2 separate regions of the Homo sapiens genome follow, and region 2 is linked to region 1. The links are contacts of gene promoters, found by promoter capture Hi-C in human tissues and cell types (Jung and others, 2019). All regions are on one chromosome and are shown on one strand. The core of a region is centred on a gene start or on the middle of the fragment in contact, and the rest is flanking DNA. Distances in the headings are between cores, read along the strand shown. Region 1 holds the start of CENPM (centromere protein M). Region 2 overlaps POLDIP3 (DNA polymerase delta interacting protein 3).

Evidence for each region. The method cuts DNA at HindIII sites, captures the fragments that hold promoters and counts their contacts. A contact is called where the count stands out against the background at its distance.
Region 2: a contact is called between a fragment that was not itself captured here and the fragment with the promoter of CENPM in region 1, in 1 of the 25 tissues and cell types used here (dorsolateral prefrontal cortex).

What each region holds. Positions count from the first base shown.
Region 1 is chr22:41,945,731-41,948,720 of GRCh38, reverse strand. CENPM (centromere protein M) reads left to right here and starts at 1,569. Exons shown (of 6, transcript NM_024053.5): 1 at 1,569-1,701; 2 at 2,225-2,304; 3 at 2,716-2,808. The coding sequence starts at 1,645. It also overlaps a transcript of SMIM45 not described here. RefSeq lists an enhancer at 1,556-1,765. The HindIII fragment of the contact is 14,723 bases long and covers 1-2,990 here.
Region 2 is chr22:42,607,752-42,610,669 of GRCh38, reverse strand. All of the region lies in intron 1 of POLDIP3 (DNA polymerase delta interacting protein 3), which reads left to right. LOC124905127 (a long non-coding RNA gene) reads left to right here. Exons shown (of 2, transcript XR_007068118.1): 2 at 1,708-1,935. Among named protein-coding and RNA genes, the nearest start is that of POLDIP3, 5.7 kb to the left of the region's middle. The HindIII fragment of the contact is 5,591 bases long and covers 1-2,918 here.

The DNA.
Region 1 (2,990 bases), core at 320-2,819:
GCCTCAAACTCCCGGCCTCAAGTGATTCACCCGCCTCGGTCTCCCAAAGTGCTGGGTTATAGGCATGAGCCACGGCGTTCAGCTTACTTTATTTTCTTGTCATAGTGCCTACTACTGCTTGACTTTCAGGAAGTCCTCTCCACACCCCATGCCATGAGGAATGAAAGCCGTATCTGTGCTGAGGGCAGTGGCTCTATGGGGCCATTTACGTCCTGATCTTTCTGAGCAAGACACAGTTAGTTTAGTCTGCAGTAAGAAGGATTTAGGCTAGACAGTGTCTCTGCTCTCCCAGTTATTACAACAATGAACACACTGTTATCATTGTCTATCCCACCCCCATCAAACTAAGTTAATCAATAATGTCTGATTCAACTGACTTCCTAGGGTAGGGCATTGGGTCTGGGCATAGGAAATGATGAATGAATGACTGCTGAGAATGAATGGATGAATGTAATCCATCCATTCACTCAACAAATATTTATTAACTACGATGTACCAGGGACTTTTAGAGTGCTGGACATACAAAGTGACAAAGTCTCTAACCTCTTGTTTCTTACATTTTAGATGTAGAGACAGTGAACAAGTTATTATATAACTGTTGGCAGAACCAGTTTGCTATGGGCCCTGAGCGTCCCTGCATGTTCTTGCTGGGTATGTCAAGAAAGCAAGACCCTGACAGCTCTGTACTCAGGCTGTGTTTGCAGCAAGGAACCTTGAAAGATGAGGTAAAGTCTCCCATTGGACAAAGAACAGCATGCTTACCACTCACTGTAAAAGCAGTCAATTGGCAGGGCCTGCTGGTGTGCAGCGGTAGTCCCAGCTACTCAGGAGGCTGAAGCAGGAGGGCTGCTTGAGGCCAGGAGTTTACGACCCACCTGGGCAACATGGCCAGATCCCCATGGTGGCACTTGCCTGTAGTTCCAGCTACTCAGGAGGCTAAGCCAGGAAGATGACTTGAGCCCAGGAGTTTGAAGCTGTAGTGAGCTATGATCGTGTCACTATAGTCCAGCCTGGGCAACAAAGTGACGCTCCAAAAAAAAAAAAAAAAAAAGGGCCAGGCACGGTGGCTCACGTCTGTAATCTCAGCACTCACTTTGGGAGGCCGAGGCGGGATCACTTGAGGCCAGGAGTTTGAGACCGGCCTGGGCAACTTGGAGAAACCCCGTCTCTACTAAAAATAAAAAAATAAGTCGGGCGTGGTGACGCGCGCCCGTAGTCCCAGCTCCTTGGGAGGCTGAGGCAGGAGAATCGCTTAAACTCGGGAGGCAGAAGTTGCAGTGAGCCGAGATTGCGCGCATTGCACTCCAGCCTGGGCCACAAAGCGAGACTCTGTCTCAAAAAAAAAAAAAAAAAGTACTGTGTATGAGCATGAATGAATGAAAGTGAACAAAGGAATCACTAAAAACCTGCTTACTGTGGAGCGTGGAACCAAAGGCCTGTCCACCACGTGTTCCACGGGTAGCGCTGGAACGCCCCTCAGAAAAGGAGATAAAGGTTCGGTTCCTTTAAGAGGCCCCGTCCCGTCCCGCGAAGCCCCGCCTATAAGGAGGCACGTGCCCCCAGGCCGCGCTCTAGGGGCTGGACTCAGGGCGGTTTGAAAGATCGGCGCGCACCGCAGGAGCAACGGTTGGTCCTGCGGCTGTGATGTCGGTGTTGAGGCCCCTGGACAAGCTGCCCGGCCTGAACACGGCCACCATCTTGGTAGGTGCAGGCGGCCCTGCTTCCCCCGCCGGTTTTTCCTCCTGGGCGGTGCTTCAGCCACTAGGTCAACTGAGCTCTCTGAGGCGCCAAGCCAGCGCGCGCTACCGTGGCGGGGGCGGGGAATAGGCGGAGAGCCATGCTCTGAACCAATTGGAGTAGCCGCTCTCTGAGGTTGAGGGACGCACCCACCAATAGGTGCTCGGCGGACCCTTTCCCAGCTTCTGATTGGCGAGTTCCCGCGCCTGGAATTGGTTTTCCCGCGTCTGGGGGTCTGGCCTCCTGGAGAGGCCGGCGGTGGGAGCGAGGGTCGGGTAGTAGAGAGTGCGGTGCCCACAGGCCTGCAGCGGGTCCAAACCTCAGGCCCCCAGCCCGTGCCGCTTCGCGGGGTCCACTTCTCGGGAAATGTCCTCCGAGCCGCCTGCTGGCGGTGTCCCGATCCCCCCGGGAGTGGGTCGAAGGGCCAGGCCCTCCCCAGGGGGTGCTGTGCCTAGGGCTCGACTGTCCGCTCTCTCTCCCTGCGCAGCTGGTGGGCACGGAGGATGCTCTTCTGCAGCAGCTGGCGGACTCGATGCTCAAAGAGGACTGCGCCTCCGAGCTGAAGGTGTAAGTAGCCGCGGCTGTGGCCTGGGCCCACGTGTCTCTCACTCCAGAGGGATTCGGTCCTAGCTGCTAAACTCCGAAGCCCAGCGCCCCCTCCTCTGAGGCTGGTCCTTCTCCCAGCATGCAGCGTAGCTGGCTAGTCCCATGCCGTCTTATATCCCAACCTCCCCTTGCCGAGGTGGTGACTAAACAGAGCCCGTTTCTGGCAGAGGGAATCAGACAGGAGTAATCTGAATAGGACCGGACCTGTCCTGCCTCTGTGCTGGCCCAAGGAGTCGTGGCCACAAGAGCCTCGGGTGGCTAGGATGAGGTGGGGAGCCCTTGACGGCCTCTTTCCACATGAAGGGCAGCATTTAAACGGTCGCTATGAGGGGGGTACGGATATCTTGAGTCCTGCAATTTCCTGTTTTTCAGCCACTTGGCAAAGTCCCTCCCTTTGCCCTCCAGTGTGAATCGGCCCCGAATTGACCTGATCGTGTTTGTGGTTAATCTTCACAGCAAATACAGGTGAGAGCCAGAGGAAGGGGCAGTCAGGGCTCAGGCAGGCCTGGCTCAGGACTGTGCTGAGACGGTGACCTAACTTGTGATGGGAAGTGGTGAGGATGGGAGAGGCTGGCTGAGGTCAATCTGTAAGGTGAGGAGAGAGGAGCCAGTGGTCAGTGCACAATGTTTAAAATACACAACGGCCG
Region 2 (2,918 bases), core at 261-2,760, 660 kb before region 1:
CTGCCTCACAAAGTGCTGGGGTTACAGGTGTGAGCCACTGTGCCCAGCAGTTTCTTCCTTTAGATATGAGGGCATCCCCAGTTAAGTCAGTTGACATGTCCGCTTTTGTTAGTTCGATGAGTTTAACCCTCAGCGGATAGCTTTCTGTCAGCTGCCTCCAAGCAGTTCAGTGTGGCAGCCTTGAATGTGCTGGAGGCTGGAGTTGAGCAGCTCTCTGGGCCAGACGCCTCATCTGGGGAGTCCTTGGAGCTGGAAGTGGGAGGTTGTTGGGGGACAGGGTGGATTGTAAACTTTGCAGTTCAGCCCAGGACTCTGGTCCTGGTACTGACTGCTTGTTTCCTTGTTGAAATAAGATAAAGGAAATAAAGACCTAAACACAAAAGGGAGGAAATGAGTTATTACATAACTCTAGGGAACGAATTATGTTTTAAAATGAAACATCTGCACAAGACTCTTGGGTAAGGGGATAGTATTTTATTTTATTTATTTATTTTTGAGACAGAGTTTTGCTCTTGCTGCCCAGGCTGGAGTGCAATGGCGCGATCTCAGCTCACCGAAACCTCCACCTCCTGGATTCAAACGATTCTCCTGCCTCAGCCTCCTGAGTAGCTGGGACTACAGGCATGGGCCACTACGCCCGGCTAATTTTTTGTATTTTTAGTAGAGACAGGGTTTCACCATGTTGGCCAGGCTGGTCTCAAACTCCTGACCTCAAGTGATCCGCCCATCTCAGCCTCCCAAAGTGCTTGGGATTACAGGCGTGAGCCACCTCGCCCAGCAGGGGATAGTATTTTAGTGTCTTGTTTTTCTTTGTGTCTCTTAAACACCTAATTCAGAGTTGACCCTCAGTCATAGTTAGAATTAAGCTGTTTTCTCTCTATAAAAATGACCTAAACACACACCTAAACGAACACCCCCTAACCCAGAAGCTTTTTTTGTTTGTTTTTATAAGACGGAATCTTGCTCTGTCACCCAGGCTGGAGTGCAGTGGTGCGATCTTGGCTCATGGCAACCTCTGCCTCCCATAACCCAGAGGATTTTAAACCCATGGGTTAAAATCTGCTTTATAATAATCCAGGGCCCCACTTCATGGGCCTGAATCTTTTGGACTGGACATCTGTCCAGAATGGGCTGTAGCCCTGCCCTCCCCAGACAGAGCCAGGAGGGTGAAATATTCCTATAGCCCAGACAGACCCTCCCTGGTCATCACACCTATGCCAGGTTCCCGTAGGGGGTATAGAGGAGAGAATTTGGGGTCCAGGGAACGTTTGCCTTCTCACCTGCCAGCAGCGCTCTTGCCAGGACCTCGCGGAATACCTGGTGAAGCCCTGGAAGCAGTTGCAGAGCTGTAGTTTCGGTGCGATGGAGGTGGGGCATTACGAGACTCAGTCAAAACCTTCCTCCTTCGCCCTCCCAAACATTTACTGAGGATAAAAGTGCAGGATGTGTTTTGGGAACGTCAGTAGTCACTGCAGTGGGGAGTAAGGCTGCAGCCATAAGCTGGAGCCAGAGCCGAGGCCCCCCCAGGGGTTGGGCTTTGTAAAGGAGCCCCCAGCAGTTCTAGAAGCGGGAGGGTAACATAATTGAGTCTGTGTTTTAGAGACCTACCCCTGGCAGGAGTGTTGATTTGAAAAATTTCCGATGACTAATGCCTGCCTGAAACCAGTACTGCTGCCTGCTGGGATGAATAGCTGTCTTTTCATGCAGGAAGAGCAGCTGTGATTATAAAAAGCCTGAACACTGAAGCCCCCTCAAGCTGTTCACGAAAGAAGTTGAAAGCACTGGTGGAACCAGGGAACTGAGTGCATCAGATTGAGGGAAATAGCTTACTCCCTCCCACCGTGAGGAGCTCCTACTACATCCTCAACTACCGTTAACTCCCACCCCTAAATGTGCCTTTTAGGCTGTTCAAATAGATAAAAATGCCAGCACAAAGCATCTTGGTGGTCCTTCCTGCCAGGCAGGCATTGTGGTATGCGAGTTCTCAGTGCGTGCACCACCCGCTCGCCTCGCTGCTTGTGCTCACCCTTTGGTCGCTAGAGAGTGCTCCGTATCCCTGGGCATGACCGGAGTCCTAAGATTTCTTCAGCCTGCGGACTGTTTATCCTTCCTTTATATATATGTATAAATTTTTAAGGGTTTAACAACATATTGAAACTGAAATACCAGACAATAATGATAAGGAAGATTGTTTCTTTTTGTTTTGGTGGTGGTGGTTTTTTTTTGTTTTGTTTTGTTTTGATTTTTGAGACAGGGTCTTGTTCTGTCTCCCAGGCTGGAGTCCAGTGGTGTGATCTTGGCTCACTGCAGCCTGGACCTCCTGGGCTTAGTTGATCCTCCTGCCTTGGCCTTCTGAGTAGCTGGGACTACAGATGTGCATCATCACTTGCAGCTAATTTTTTTTTGGGGGGGGGGGTAAGGTTATAGATTAACAGCATCCCAAGGCAGAAGAATTTTTCTTAGTACAGAACAAAATGAAGTCTCCCACGTCTACTTCTTTCTACACAGACACAGTAACAATCTGATCTCTCTTTTCCCCACATTTCCCCCTTTTCTATTCGACAAAACCGCCATCGTCTTCATGGCCCGTTCTCAATGAGCTGTTGGGTACACCTCCCAGACGGGGTGGCGGCCGGGCAGAGGGGCTCCTCACTTCCCAGACGGGGTGGTGGCTGGGTGGAGGCGCCCCCCACCTCCCGAACAGGGCGGCTGGCTGTGCGGGGGCTGCCCCCCACCTCCCTCCCAGACGGGGCGGCTGCCGGGCGGAGACGCTCCTCACTTCCCAGACGGGGCGGCTGCTGGGCGGAGGGGCTCCTCACTTCCCAGACGGGGTGGCCGGGCAGAGAAGCTCCTCACCTCCCAGACGGGGTGGCGGTCGGGCAGAGACACTCCTCAGTTCCCAGATGGGGTCGCGGCCG